Linked DNA regions of Homo sapiens: region 2 is linked to region 1. Evidence: promoter capture Hi-C in 16 types of primary human blood cells and fetal thymus (Javierre and others, 2016). All regions are on one chromosome and are shown on one strand. Each heading gives the region's core, a stretch centred on a gene start or on the middle of the fragment in contact. The rest is flanking DNA. Distances are from core to core; before and after follow the strand shown. Region 1 holds the start of NXT1 (nuclear transport factor 2 like export factor 1). Region 2 overlaps ZNF337 (zinc finger protein 337).

What was found. The method cuts DNA at HindIII sites, captures the fragments that hold promoters and counts their contacts. A CHiCAGO score of 5 or more calls a contact.
Region 2: a fragment that was not itself captured here is called in contact with the fragment with the promoter of NXT1 in region 1 in 2 of 17 cell types (naive B cells and total B cells); the score reaches 13.7 in naive B cells.

Annotation. Positions count from the first base shown.
Region 1 is chr20:23,346,535-23,353,867 of GRCh38, reverse strand. NXT1 (nuclear transport factor 2 like export factor 1) reads right to left here and starts at 3,077. Exons shown (of 2, transcript NM_013248.3): 1 at 2,807-3,077. NXT1-AS1 (NXT1 antisense RNA 1) reads left to right here and starts at 2,401. Exons shown (of 3, transcript XR_937384.2): 1 at 2,401-2,538. RefSeq lists enhancers at 2,226-2,275, 2,332-3,203, 3,142-3,436, 3,356-3,495, 3,204-4,076 and silencers at 2,766-3,035, 3,656-3,785. The HindIII fragment of the contact is 12,471 bases long and covers 1-7,333 here.
Region 2 is chr20:25,687,201-25,694,533 of GRCh38, reverse strand. All of the region lies in intron 1 of ZNF337 (zinc finger protein 337), which reads left to right. Among named protein-coding and RNA genes, the nearest start is that of ZNF337, 6.0 kb to the left of the region's middle. The HindIII fragment of the contact is 187 bases long and covers 3,523-3,709 here.

The sequences.
Region 1 (7,333 bases), core at 1,828-4,327:
CAATGACTGTAGGCTCAAATAGTACCCAATGCCTAAAAATGCCTAATTTTACTAAGACTCAGTTTGCTCACTGTTAAGATGGGATTACCACTGTGGCAAACTGAGATAGTATACCTTAAGTGTTTAGTTTAAAAACATTTAGTTATAGTCAGCACTCCATATCTGAGGGTTTTGCATCCACAGATTCAGCCAACCTCAGGGCGAAACCTGCAAATACGTTGGGCTGACTGTGCTATGCCATTTTGTTTTTGTGACAGTCTCACTTTATCACCCAGGCTGGAGTGCAGTGGCGCGACCTCGGCTCACTGCAACACCTGCCTCCCAGCTTCAAGCGATTTTCTTGCCTCAGCCTCCCAAGTAGCTGGGAATACAGATGCCCGCCACCACGCCTGGCTAACTTTTGTATTTTTAATAGAGACAGGGTTTCGCCATGTTGGCCAGTCTGGTCTCAAACTCCTGACCTCAGGTGATCTGCCTGCCTCGGCCCCCCAAAGTGCTGGGATTACAGGCATGAGCCACCATGCCCGGCCTTAACGCCATTTTATATCAAGGACTTGGAGCATCAGCAGATTTGGTCTGTTGTGGGGCTAGGGGGGCTGCTGGAATCAATTCCCAGAGGATAAGGAGGCCTGATTGGACCACGAATTTTTAAAATCACATTTTATAAAATAGAGTACATTTGAGTATGGAAGGCCACTCTTTCCTGAATGCTTGCAACAGACATGACAGCCCCTTGGTAAAGACAGTGGACCATGTTGAAGGGAAGAGTGGTCACTGGCCCAATAAAGGCCAACCAAACCAATGAAATGCTCGTCAGCTGCTGAGTCTAGGAAAGTCTATCATGAGCTCACTCAGGAGGAACTGGGAAGGCAGAGAAGGCAGGTTTCTTAAGAGGGTAGAAACACAAATGACATGAGGACAGAATCAAAATGGCAGCCATAATCCCCATGATAAGCTAGAAGCAGCAAACCTCTTGGGTGAGTGGGGATTAGAAGGGAGGACACCCAGCTTACACAGGTACTAACATCCACCAGATAAGTCCTGTGGAGTCACAGTGCCTCCACAGAAAGGCATGTTAGATTTCAAAGCTCTTGGGTGTGTGGACACAGAATATGAACTATAGCTGAAATGTCACATTGTCCCCCAAATAAAAAAGTCCAAAAGCATTTAAAAAATTGACATTTACTTTTTTCAGGGTACAGGTACAACTGTTATGTTCTTTTCTCCATAATTAAAATATTTCACTTAAAAAAAAGAGGACATTACTAAAATAGAGGACATTACTAAAATAGTTTATACTTACAAACTTAGTGAACAGTTTTTTTTCATTTCAAAAAAAAGACTTTTTTTTTTATAATGATTAGCTTATGAAATAAATAAAACATTCCACATAGGGCTGGAAAGAGCCAGGTACTTATAACGGCTGCAAAGATGGTGCATTGCCTCTGGTAAAGGGCTGGCTGGGAGGGAAGCTGTCCTAAAAATGAGCAGTTAAGAGCCAATTTCAGACGTGGGTCTTTCCACGCCCTCCACAGACCTCATAGTTAAGCCTCAACTGTACTCTGGACTGAGTACAGTGGTCCCTCGGTATCTGTGAGGAACTGGATTCAGGACCCCCGAGGATACCAACACCTGCAGATGCTCAAGTCCCTGATAAAATGGTGTACTGTTTGATATAACCTATGCGCAGCATCCTCCTATATACCTTCATCATCTGTAGGTAACTTATAATACCTAATACAATGTAGATGGGATGTAAATAGTTGTTATACTGTATAGTTTAGGAAATAATGACAAGAAAAAAAAAGCCTCTACATGTTCAGTACAAACGCATTTTTCTTTTTCTGAAGAATATTTTTGATTTGAGGTTGGTTGAATCCACCCCACGCGGAACCCACGACTAAGAAGCGCTGTGTTTGCTAAGGGCTTCACACAAATTACCTCATTTAAATGTTACCACAAATGGATGAAAAAGGTATTACTATAACAATTTTACAAATGAGAAAAGGGAAACCTAGGGCTGGATCAAAGTAACGACGGTTAAGTACACTCCTGATCTATCGTTTACAAGACTAGACTGAGGGCTGAAATTTTGTCAATACAACGCTGTCCTTGTACTCGCGTAAGCAAGTCTCCATGAGCACAACTCCAGGACTGCTAGAGTGGGAATTTTCTCCCAGGGACCCCATTTCTCTTTGGCTGGAATTCCCGATCTCCACCTCACTCCTCCTCCCTCCATGGCACCAGTCCCCCCATCATCTCAGAAATGCCCCTCTTCTCCGCCCCTGGCTGTCTTTCCAAACACAATCTAACAACTGGCCACGCCCCCACACACCATAGAAGGACCATCTCCACTTACGGTTTTCAGCTACCTATGAGGTCGTCAGTCCCGCTGTCTGTGTCAAATCAGAAAAAGAACCTGACCGTGAGGACTAGAGTAAGAGGCTGTGAAGACTGCCGCCTCCTCGCACGACCCACACCGTCGAGTGTCCGGAGATGGACGGGAAAAGCTACCACAGTGGCATGGCCTTATTTCCTGTGAGTCGCCTTTAATTCAAACCTAGACAGACGCACGCCCTGCCCGGCCCTCCTCAGACCCGAGAGCTGCGCTGTGAGGGGACGCGCCTCCCCTCGTTGATGAGAATTCGCTGCCACGCTTTTTGCACAGGCGAGAGCCTCACCGCGGCGGCAACTCTACCACGTGGACAAAGGCACAGCCGTGTCTCATTCTCGACAATGGAGGAGGGCGTGGGGTATGCACTAGGGGCTGTCTCGGGGGTCAGACCGCCGGGGGACGGCAACGTACCTGCGCGGCGACGTCCAGGGTCAGCGCGGGCCGCGGCCCCCACGGTCGGGACGCCCCCCGCGTGGGACGCAGTTCCACTGAGGGGCCGGCCGCGGAGGTCACAAGGTGGGCCCACCGAAGCCTCTGGTAGGGGCACGGGAAGAGCCGCCTTTCTCTCCTCCTCCTCCTTCTTGGAGGCTTACTCTGGGTCACCGGGGCCCCAGAGCCGGGGGACTTTCCGGCGCAGTTCCGCGGCTTCCCGCGCGCGGCCAGCCGGTCTCCACGCAGACGCGAGCGCCCCGGCGCCGCCCTCTCCCGCATTCCCGTGACGGGCAGCGAAGTCAGCCAGTGGGACTGCGGGCCGGAAGGCTAACTCCGCCCATGTGTGGCTTATAAGAGGCGGTAGCTTCCGGGAGTGTCACTTTCCCAGAAATCCCGGCAAATCCGCCCTAGAGTTTTCGTTGGTCCAACCGGGCCACAGACTCCGGCCCGTCTGGTTAGGTGGGATGCCTGATTGGGCCAAACCTCTTAGGTCCCGCACCTAGAGCGGGGAGTAGCGTCTGCTTTTTTTTCCGCTGAGCGGAGGCCGCTAGGCTGGAGAGGGAGGGGAAGGTGTGTGGGGTCGGGTGAGATGCTTTCCCCTCGTCCCGCATGCGCCTGTATTGGAGTGATTTCAGTTAAAAGTCTCGTGAAACGTCACCAGTGATGTAGTCACGGCCAGCAGCAGCTGCCTGACCCCGCCGAGGCCTTCCGTCTGGCAACATGTGGGGCGCCGCAATGCTTGAGGCCACGGCGAGGGCAACGCCGGCCGCGCCCCGTGGAAACCGCGTGGCGGAGTGCTTGAGCCGATCGCGCTCTTTAGGAGTTAGGCCACTTAGAGGCGACATCTTGGTGGACACGGAGGAAGCCAGTTTTAGTCAGATGGGAAAAGTAGCTAAAAGTGGGAGGAGACTGGGGCGAGGGTGGGACGTGGGGGAGGCGGGGGCGTGACGGCGGCTCTCCACTGCCCTGAGGCTTGAGGGGCCCCGGGAAACCCGGGCCCGGCTGGGGTTGGGACTCTGTTCTTCCGCGTTCATAGCTACGATTCAGCTGTTCTGGAATGAGAACTGGATTTTTACTGAACTTTACGAACAGGCTCAACAGGATGTAACCATTCAGTGTGGAGGCATGAGAAACTATAGCTTGTAAATTAAAAGAAAAACCTCATTTCTTTAGACAACATTTTCAGCTCCATCTGCTGGTCTGAGGCTGAATAATTAATTGAAAAGCCAGGAGAGAAATGGGGCTAGATGAAGTGAGGTAGTTTAACCTGTGCTTTCTTGGCGTCCCGTCGGCTCCCTTTGCTTGCATTCCTAAGAGAATCTTGGTCTCAGATTTCAGGACAAGTGGAAAACAGTTGGGCTATTTAGTATAGGCCACCCCTTCCCCCCCGCACCCTCTCCCCCCACACACTTCAGTTAAGTAGGTGGAAAGTTTGGATTATTAAAAAGACACGTTGGAGGCTGAGCAGAGAGTGTGAAAGAGCATTTTCGGGGCTTTGTGAACTAACATGGCCTTTTGAACCCCAAGGCAGTGATACTTGGATTGATCTAAATCAGCGTGGATGGAATGGAAGTGGGAATGCGTTGATTTACTGCACGCTCAGTAGTTTGGATGCTGTGCTGCTTTTGTTTCCTGTATAATAAGCCCCTTTAATTTGTTTCACATAACTTATTGGGGGAGGTACCATTATTTCTGATTTTATAGACAAGGAGGCTGACAAAGAACCATCCTGGTGTCACAGGGTCGATTCATACCTAGAAAAGTATGAAGATTCATACCTAGAAAAATTAGAAGAACATTAATGCAGCTCCAAGGCCTTTTAAAAATGCGAGACTTTAGCTTTGAAAGGCAGCTGTTCTGCCTTTTAGGTTTGTGGGGTCTGCCTTTTAGGTTAGGGTCCTTTTAGGTTTGTGTCTCCAGCATATAAAATTGTGCCTGACCCAAAGCAAGGGCTCAATAAATACTGTTTGAATGAACAGACAAACCTGGGTTCAAATCATGCTCCTCAACTGCACAGTTGTGATGATCTGTCCTCAACACTCACTCCCTGCTCTCTTTGGAAGCAACCCTGGCTTTTATTCCCCCTATTTGTAGCAGGACAAGCCGCAGACAAAACCCCTCAGAAACCAAGTTAAAGAAGGAAGGGCTTTATTCGGCCAGGGAACTTCAGCAAGACTCACGTCTCCAACAACCGAACTCCCCAAGTGAGCAATTCCTGTCCCTTTTAAGGGCTCACAACTCTAAGGGGGTCCACGTGAGAGGGTCATGATCAATTGAGCAAGCAGTGGGTATGTGACTGGGGCTGCATGCACAGGTAATTAGAACGGAACAGGACAGGACAGGGATCTTCACAGTGCCTTTTTTATGCAAACAACCAATTAGGTCAGGAGTCAATCTTTACCAGGCCCAGGGTGTGGCGCTGGGCTGTCTGCTTGTGGATTTCATTTCTGCCTTTTAGTTTTTACTACTTTTTTCTTTGGAGGCAGAAATTGGGCATAAGACAATATGAGGGGTGGTCTCCTCCCTTACTATGATCCTGGAGTTTGGGGAGGTCAGAGACATCCCTGGTTCCAAAGGACACACGACTGGCACTGTATGCGTTGAGCACAGCTGAGGGTGGTCGGAGGCCCAATTAGGGCCACTGAGCCTGGAGGTGTTTGCTGAAGGATTCTGGGGAAGGAGATTTTTCTCCCTTCCCTTCTGGACTCACAGTGTGTGGATAGCACTGTTGCAGCCATCTTGCTGCCCTGAGTGGTAGACCCTTGATGAGGCAGACAGGAAAGCTGGGAAGAAATCAGGCTCTTGATGACTATGTTGGGAGTCAAATCATCCCTCAAGTTTGGACTTTTCAGTTTCAAGAGCCAGGAAATCCTTTTATCTTTTGTACTATTTAAAATTGGGCATAAGCATAAAGTTATTTGCAACCTGACTAGTGTGGCTTAAGCATTAGCAGGGTGGCTGTGGCAAGTGAGTTAGCCTCTTTGAGGCTCAGCTGCCTCCTCTGTAGAATAGGGGCAATGGTCATATCCATCTCCTCGGGCTGACGTGAAGAGCGAACGAAACAATGCATGCTAAGTGCTTCATATGGGGCCGAGCATGAAGTAGCATCCAGAAAGCGTTGGGAAAGCAGAATCATGCTTTGACATTTTGCATCTATAGCAACTTCCTTATTTGCCAACAATCCCTCCAATGACTGGCTTTTAAACTTGGAAGAAGTGTATTGACAAATTGGTGGGATTTGTCACCAAATTGCATGGGCCCTTCTGAAGATGAGCCCAGTGGTCCCATGTGCAGCGTGGAGTCCGTCCAGGGAGGAAGGGCACATCTGGTCACACAGGCAGAGTCCTTGGCAGCTCTGATGACAGGCTTGATTTAAGGATCTTTAAGTCTGTAAATAGAGGATTGATCTTTTCCCTCATTGTCAATGTTGTTCTCTGGCGCAGGATCTTAACAGCATTTGTTTGCCATGAGAGGCTGCATGACTTGGAGCCAGTCAATCTACGGTGACAGCAAAGCAGTTGTGACTCTAATGTACTGCCACCAAAAACACTTTCTTTTCCGTCTCTCAGCCTTAGCAGGATCATCTGAGCCACTGCCAGTTCAGAGTGAGCTGGGGCTGCTTTTCCAGGAGGGCAGTTGGGGACCTGACTTTTGAGGAGATTCTGAGGTTTACTGAAGGAGCAAACCCTATGGGGTTAGACAGAGTTTTGTGAAATCTGAGCTCTGCCTTCTCTGTACTTCAGTTACTGCCTCTGTAAAATGGGGGTGTGGACACTGTAGACATTAAATGGCAGTGTATAAAGGAGGCACCATCTGGAGCATTTGTCCAGCCTGCAATGATGCCGTTTGTCTGAGAAGGTTGTAGGGATCATTTCTGGTTTGAATCTCAGCCCTCTTCCCAGCTCAGCCACCAGCCATCTGGAATTGTGGGAGAGGTCAGACGGCTGCAAAGCCTCTATGTGGAATTGGAACTAAATACACATATTTATCAGTATTTAATGGAAGACTGCAGGATGCTTGCAGAGTCTACAGAAGGCACTGGTAAGGTGGCTCTTTTAGTCTGGGAACAAGAACTGGGCAATGGATGCCTCAGAGGCTGAGTTGGACTGACAGAGCTGTGACCAGTGTCTAGAACCTGGGATTCTCCACTAAAGTCAGATTCTCAGGAGAGAGTTGGATTGGCCCAACTTCAGTCATGTGCCACCCCTCTGCTGCCCAGGAGGGATGGGTGGCTTGAGGGACAGTCCTGCCAAAAACACCTGGGGAGGAAGTTTCTCAAAAGAAGTAATGTGGAGGAGCTGTTCCCAAAGGAAGCGGGGGATTCTGAGAAGGCAGGAATAACTGAGGCCATGAGCACAGACAGAGGATGAAGCAGAGGTCAAGGTCATGTGACCAGAGGAGAGAACTGGAGCAAGACATGTATGCACACACACATGCACACATGGACACTCACATATGCACACTTACATGTACACATGCACACTTACATGTACACATGCGTACACA
Region 2 (7,333 bases), core at 2,367-4,866, 2.3 Mb before region 1:
GACCATCCAAATAACTGATTTTAATCATTTCATTATGGAAAAATTGTCAGCAGAACCCCCAAGTAGAGAGACCCATCAGTCAAGATATACCTCATGACCTTGCAAGCTAATCTAGCTTGACCCAGATCCCCTCCTAATCTGTGCAGATTCATTGAGGAATGTCATAGCCATGCCTACTGGTTAAGACATAGTCCTTTACAGTGAGAGTTGAAACCCAAGCTCTATCACTTTCTTGGCTGTGTTGCTTTGAGAAAGGCATTTAAATGTTTTGTGCCTGTTTCCTCATCTGAAATTGGTGGGTAATAGTCACTTCATAGGACAGTTGTGAAGATTGAATGCAGAAAAATTTGTGCCACGCCTGGAACCGTCCCTGGCATATATTAAATTCTAAAAAAGTGTTAAATATTATAATGAATATCAACACTTCCTTATTCTGGAAGCACCGACAGGATATGCTGTGTTTAGTGTTAGCATCATGTCAGGACAGGGTCTGTTGCGATGCCCACACTCAGGATCTGTTCCCAGGAACCTGCGTAAAGTTTTCTTCTCTGGAAGACTTTGGGTCCTTTTTTTTTAACAAGAAGAGGCTCTACCCTGGGACTGGGAATTTCCAAGGCCACCTTTGAGGATCGCAGAGCTCATTTTAGAGCCATTTTAGTCCCCAGCTCCTCTTCCTCCACTCCCACGTTACCCGTGAGAGGACTGTCTGCAGGGTAAGGGAGGACAGCCCAACCCCAGGTGGGGACTTCTTATGTATTGCCTTCCTGCAGTGCCTTCTCTGCCCTAAACCATGGTGGGTTTCCTTTGCTAATGTCTGACATCTTGTGCCCTACACTGTCCCATCTGAGGCTCAGAACCTCTCAGCCGGTTCTCATGGGGAACGTTCCCCAGATCTGATGCCCTCATTCAGGACACTTCCATCATTGTCCCTACATTTCTTCTCTCAGTGCTTTATTCAGGCTGCTGCATTCGTGGTGCAGACCAGGTCTTGTAAAAAATTATTCAGTCAGCATGTGCTGAGCCATTGTCCTGTCCCAGGGACAGGGCTTTATAGTCATTGCCCTATTCATCTCTTCAACCAATGTGGAAGTTAGGAATTGGAATCCCCATTTCACAGACTAAGAAGTGGCGTGTTAATCAGTTGAAATAATTTTTACGGCTTGGCGTGGTGGCCCATACCTGTAATCCCAGCACTTTGGGAGGCCAAGGCGGGCAGATTACCTGAGGCCAGGAGTTCGAGACCAGCCTGGCCAACATGGTGAAACCTCATCTCTACTAAAAATACAGAAATTAGCCAGGCATGGTGGCTCACGCCTGTAATCCCAACTACTCTGGAGCCTGAAGCAAGATAATCGCTTGAATCCAGGAGATGGAGGTTGCAGTGAGCAGAGAACATGCCACTGCACTACAGCCTGGGGGACAGTGAGACTCTGTCTCAAAAAATAATAATTTTTACTTTATGTAACATATCTGGGATCAAGTGGACTGGGTTGTGGAGCAAGCTGGGATTTTGGGGGTTTCTGTTAAGAATTAGCTTCATTGAGGTATAATTGAGACAATAAAATTATCTCCCATTTTAAGTTCTAGTTGATGAGTTTTGAGAAATGTATATAGTGAAGTCTTGATCATCAAATCAACATATGAACATTTTTCATCTCCCAAAAATGTAGGAGCTGTTTTTTTATCTTAGGAGAATTTTAATGAAATATACGTGGAGGAGCTAAATGTTTCAAGTTTGCCTCATATTCATATCTAATTTATTGGTAACTAATTTAAACCACTTTCTTACGGCTCTCAGTTTCTGTTCCTACAGGATATTAACTCCCACAGATGGCAACAGATGGCAGGAGTGAGACCAAACAGTTTGCAGTGTTCTCCATTCACACCCTGGAAATGAAAGTTTTCTCTATTTTTCCTCTCCAAATTATCTTGGAAGGGATATTCAATTTTTTTCAAATTTACTATGAAAAATATTGAAGTAGGAACTAAAGTAGAGAGAATATATAACAGATCTCTCTGTTCCCTTGTTGCACCTTAACACTTTGCTCTTCTTATTTCATCCAACCCCCTCCCCACCCCATGCTTTCTGTTTTCAGGCTAGAGCATCTTGAAGCCAATCCAAGACACCATTTTATCTGTAAATTTACTGCAGCTACTTCTCTGAGGACTATTTTTGTTGTTACTGTCTTGCCTTTTAACGTAACTAGAGTACCAGAATCATACTCAACAAAATTAGCAATGTATTAATTTCACTCATTACCCAGTTTATGCAGAAATTTTCCAGGTCTCAAAAATTTCTCCTTACAATTCAGATTTCACACTCAGGTTCATTAAGATGGGAAGCATGAGAGAAGAAATATCTAGAAACCAGCTCAGTAGTGCCCCTTGTCTGTTTTACTTCTCTCGTTGTGATCTAGGTAAAGGAAGTTTCCCTACCTTGGCAAACTTCCCATTTGCTTGCTTAGGTGCTGAGGCTTGTTCATTCTTTCCTTGCCATAGCTTTTTCCTTCCCTTCCTTCCTTCTGCCTGCCAGGCTCATCTCCTAATTCTACTTCTACCCATAAGGACAAATAATGATCACACCACTTACCTAATTGCCTGGCCCTAGTTCTGGTCCCAACTATAATCAGAAATGTGGATTCTGGAATGGCAGTGAGGAGCGACGTGGACTGTATCTCCAGTAAAACACCATAACTGGTAATTTAGAAAACCAAAAACAACCATTTAAACTACACGGAATTTGTCTTAAGACCACTCAGGAATTTAGAGAAACATTTATTCAGAAAAATCAACTGAGCCTTTCTGAGAACAGTGAGAGTCTGTAACATTTGACACACAAACTGCTACCCTCCCCACCCCCATTTTGGTCCACTCTGAGAGAAACTCCACTGTGGGCTGTGAAAATCACAAGATGGAACCCTGTCCCTCTCCAGTTCTCAGTCTATGGTGACAGCTTTTCCCTGAGAGAGGCACGATGCCACTATTCTTAACTTCTCTCCCCCTGCCAGTCCTGTGTTCCTGAAGCTGGTTTCATGTAAGTATAGTTGAGAAGTGTGTTTGGGTGTGGACCTCCTTGAATTTATTCTTGGAGTTTGTTGAGTGTGCTGGCCTTGTAGATTCATGTCTGTCTTCAAATTTTGAAGTTTTGGCCATTATTTCTTCAGTAATCTATCAGCATCTTCTAGACACCCATATATATGTCCAGTTAATGGCACCTTATAACTCTTTTGGCTCTGTTTATTTCATTCTTTTCTCTTCTGCTTCTCTGTCTCTGAAATTTCAAATTCTTCTCTTTATGTTTACTGATTATTTCTTCTGCCTGCTCATCTGCCGTTAAATCCCTCTACTGAATTTTTCAATTACTGTGTTTTCGGGTCCAGAATTTTTGTTTGCTTCCTTTTTGTAATCTCTGTTGGTATTTTGTTCATATATATTTTCCTGATTTCCTTTTCTCTACCCGTGTTTCATGAGTTTTTGAGAATATTTTAGACAGTCTAAAATCTGTCTAGTTTGCCTGAAGCTTATGTTTCTCCGGGGAAGGTTTCCGTCACTTTATTTTCTTCCACTTATTGGGCCATGTTTTCTGAGTTTTTGTTGTTGTTGTTAGAAATTAGGCATTGTGGAAAAAACAACCTCCTTTTCCGGTTTTTGCAGACTGACTCTTTTCCAGGGAGGATTTTTGCTATTATCTTGGTATTCGTTCTAAGCTTTGGGATCAATCTGAGGAGAAGGTTTAAGATTTTCTCAGGCCTTTTTGGAGCATGGATCTTACCTTTGCTTGTGGCTTTTTCCATTTTCTCATAGGCAACTGCTTTTAAATATTTATTTGTCCCAAGAGTCTCTCCTCTGGGCCTTTGATGGTCTGTTGTATGTCTCCACCCATAATATCTTGCCCCAGGCATCTGCTCTTCAATCTGTCTGCATCTTTGCCAAGCATGATCCAGTGCTTTTCTTCCCTAAGGTGTGAGATCCTCAAAACAGAGCAGTCCCTCAGGCAGCCTCCAACAGCTTAGAACCTTGTAAGAAAGGTCTACTGTGCTTTCTCAGGTTTGAGGGAAGGAAGTGGAAACTGAGATGCTGCTTTAGAAGCTCTGTTGTATTCTGCACCTGTAATTTTTTGCCCCAGGGATCTATAGGCAAGTTCACCATGAGATTTTTCCATTAGACAACACTTGGACAGGATAGAACATTGGGAATAAGGTGTATTGGGCTGCAAATATGACTGTCTCCTGTTTTGTTTTTGTTGTTGTTGTTGTTTTGTTTTCTTGAGACTATGTCTTGCTCTGTTGCCCAAGCTGGAGTGGAGTGGCATATTCAAGGCTCATTGCTGCCTCAACCTCTTGGGCTCAAGCCAGGAGTAGCTAGGACTACAGGCACGTGCCACCACATCCAGCTAATGTTTATATTTTTTGTAGAGATGAGCCTTTGCCATGTTGCCCAAACTGGTCCCGAACTCCTGGGATCAAGCGATCCACATGCATCAGCCTCCCAAAGTGCTGGGATTACAGGAATAAGCCACTGTGCCCAGCCAGCTGCCTTCTGTTTTTAATGTGGCTTTTTCTTGATTGGGCAGTTTCTTGAATGCTGGGGACTTTTGAGTATTTTCAAATGAAGTTAGCTCCTATAAGATTATTTTAGCCAATTTTTTGGTAAGCATAGAATTAGCAATATGATTAATGCTTTTTCTGTAAACTAGTGTTATGAAAAATCTCAAATGGGTAGCAAAATTGGGAGATGGTAATAGGAATCCCCATGTTGCCTTCATCCAGATTTGATCATTTTAAAACCATGGGTAGTTCTGTTAGATTTATCCCTTCCCCCTGTTTATGTGCCAAAGTATTTCAAACAAATCCAGATGTCTTGTTATTTTACCCATATATACTTGATCTCTGAGAGGATTTTTAATCAGTGTTGAGGTGTAACTTGCATACCGTAAGAAGCACTGCTTTTAACTGTATAATGAGTTTTGACTCTTTAAAGTATACACAGGTCACTTATCACCTCAATCAAGATACAGAACATTTCAACAAGAGTTCTCATGTGCCCTTACATGTAATCATTCCAGAGGAAAATAGTCAAGAATTCTCACCAAAATATGGACAAGTAGTATCCAGCAATACATGAAAAGGATGATATATTCTAGCCAAATAGAGTTTGTTCCCAAAAAACCGAGGATAGAGTGAACATAGAGTAAGCAACCTGTGGAGATATTTAACTTTTTTTTTTTCTTGATGCGGAGTCTTGCTCTGTTGCCCAGGCTGGAGTGCAGTGGCACGGTCTCCGCTCACTGCAAGCTCTGCCTCCCACGTTCACACCATTCTCCTGCCTCAGACTCCTGAGTAGCTGGGACTACAGGCGCTCGCCACCACACCCGACTAATTTTTTTTTTTTTTTTTTTTGTGACGGAGTCTCACTCTTGCTCAGGCTGGAGCGCAGTGGCGCGATCTCGGCTCACTGCAAGCTCTGCCTCCCGGGTTCACGCCATTCTCCTGCCTCAGCCTCCCGAGTAGCTGGGACTACAGGCGCCGCCACCACTCCCGGCTATTTTTTGTATTTTTTTGTATTTTCAGTAGAGACGGGTTTCACGGTGTTAGCCAGGACGGTCTCAATCTCCTGACCACGAGGAGGAGGCCCGCCTCAGCCTCCCAAAGTGCTAGGATTACAGGCGTGAGCCACCGCGCCCGGCAGAGATACTTACCCTTACTTAACCTATCTGTAGTTCTCCGCTTAGGAACAAAAGGAAAGGTAGCTTCTTGGATGAATCAGCTTTCAGCTTAATATTTTTCTTTTGGCAGAGTGGTTTGGGTTCCAACGTTTTTATTTTCCTTTCACTGCTTTCAGGGAGCAAAAGAGAAAAACCTACATTACTATCTTAATGCAGAAAAATACTTGATAACATTTCACACCTATTCAGGGTAAAAATTCTCAGTAAATGAGGAATAGAAAGAATTTCCCTTAATGAAACAAAGGTTATGTGTGACAGCCTGGCTGCAATCATCATATTTAATGGTGAAGTGTGTTCACACTAAGATCAGGAACAAGCATTAATGTTGATTCTTATCACTCTTATTTAGCATTATCCTAGAATAACTAGCTAACCTGTTAAGGTATTAAAAAGGAATAAAAGGCATAAACGTTGAAACAGAAAAAAAAATTTTTTATTCACAGAAGATGTGAGTATGTACATGGAAGAATAGTTAAACAACTAGATACTAGTAACACACAGTTTAGGAACTTCAGAAAATAAGGTCAGTATTTTTAAAAAGCACTTGTATTTCTGTAACCTAGCAGCAAACAGTTAAAAAATGAAATACATATTTATACTACCATCAAAAACAACATATTTAAACTTCTAAGAGTAAATGTAGGGGAATATCTTTGTGACTTTGGAATAGGTAAAGATAGCACAGATGGGACATGAAAGGTAAACTATTTATGTAAGTATATAGAAAGAAATAACAAAAATGTTTTAAATCACCTTTCAACTGCCGTCAGAGGAAGAAATTTCACTGTTTTTCTTCTCCAACTACATGTAAACCAAAAAGTATCAGAGTCAAGTACCAATTTAGATGTTTATTTTGCCACAGTTGAGGACATGCCACAGAAAGAGGCCAGTGGCTTTCCCCAAAGATGAGTTTGAGAGCCTCATTGTTTAAAAAGGAAAAGTAGGCTGGAGGGGAAAGAGGAAAGGTGTGGTAATCCACCTGTGACAAGAGAAAAGGAGCAGGTAGGAAAATAGTTATGCATTCATCTCACACTCAGTAAATCAGCACTTTACATAAGATACGGTGTGCATAGAGTAGCTACTATGGAGATATTTAACGTTTTATCTGTAGCTATCTCCTTAAGAACAAAAGGAAAGGCAGCTTCTTGCATGACTTAGCTTTCAGCTTAATGTTTTTCCTTTTGGCAGAGTGGACTGGGGTCCCTAGTTTTATTTTCTTTTCATAACACCATAGTATTTGTTCACTTCTGTCTCAAAGTTACTGGCTAGTGGATGTATGCTGTGTTCATCATAATCACCACATGATAGCATCTTTGTTCCTTCACATTTCCTTCTTTTCACCCCTATATGTCTGTGTTTTTAATTTTATTTTTTTAGTCAAAACATTCACTTAAAAGTATAGTGAATACTCTAATGAAATCATTACACCCACCACTTTAATTTACAGTTCTTTTCCTGTATTTCTACTGGAATTTTTTTCAAAAAATTCGGAGAAAATAATATAATGAACCCAGTACACATTATTCAGTTCTAAAAATTATGAAGTGTGGCCAGTAATGCTCAATTGACTTTTGAGGGTGAGAAGGGGTGTTTAAGCACATCCAGACA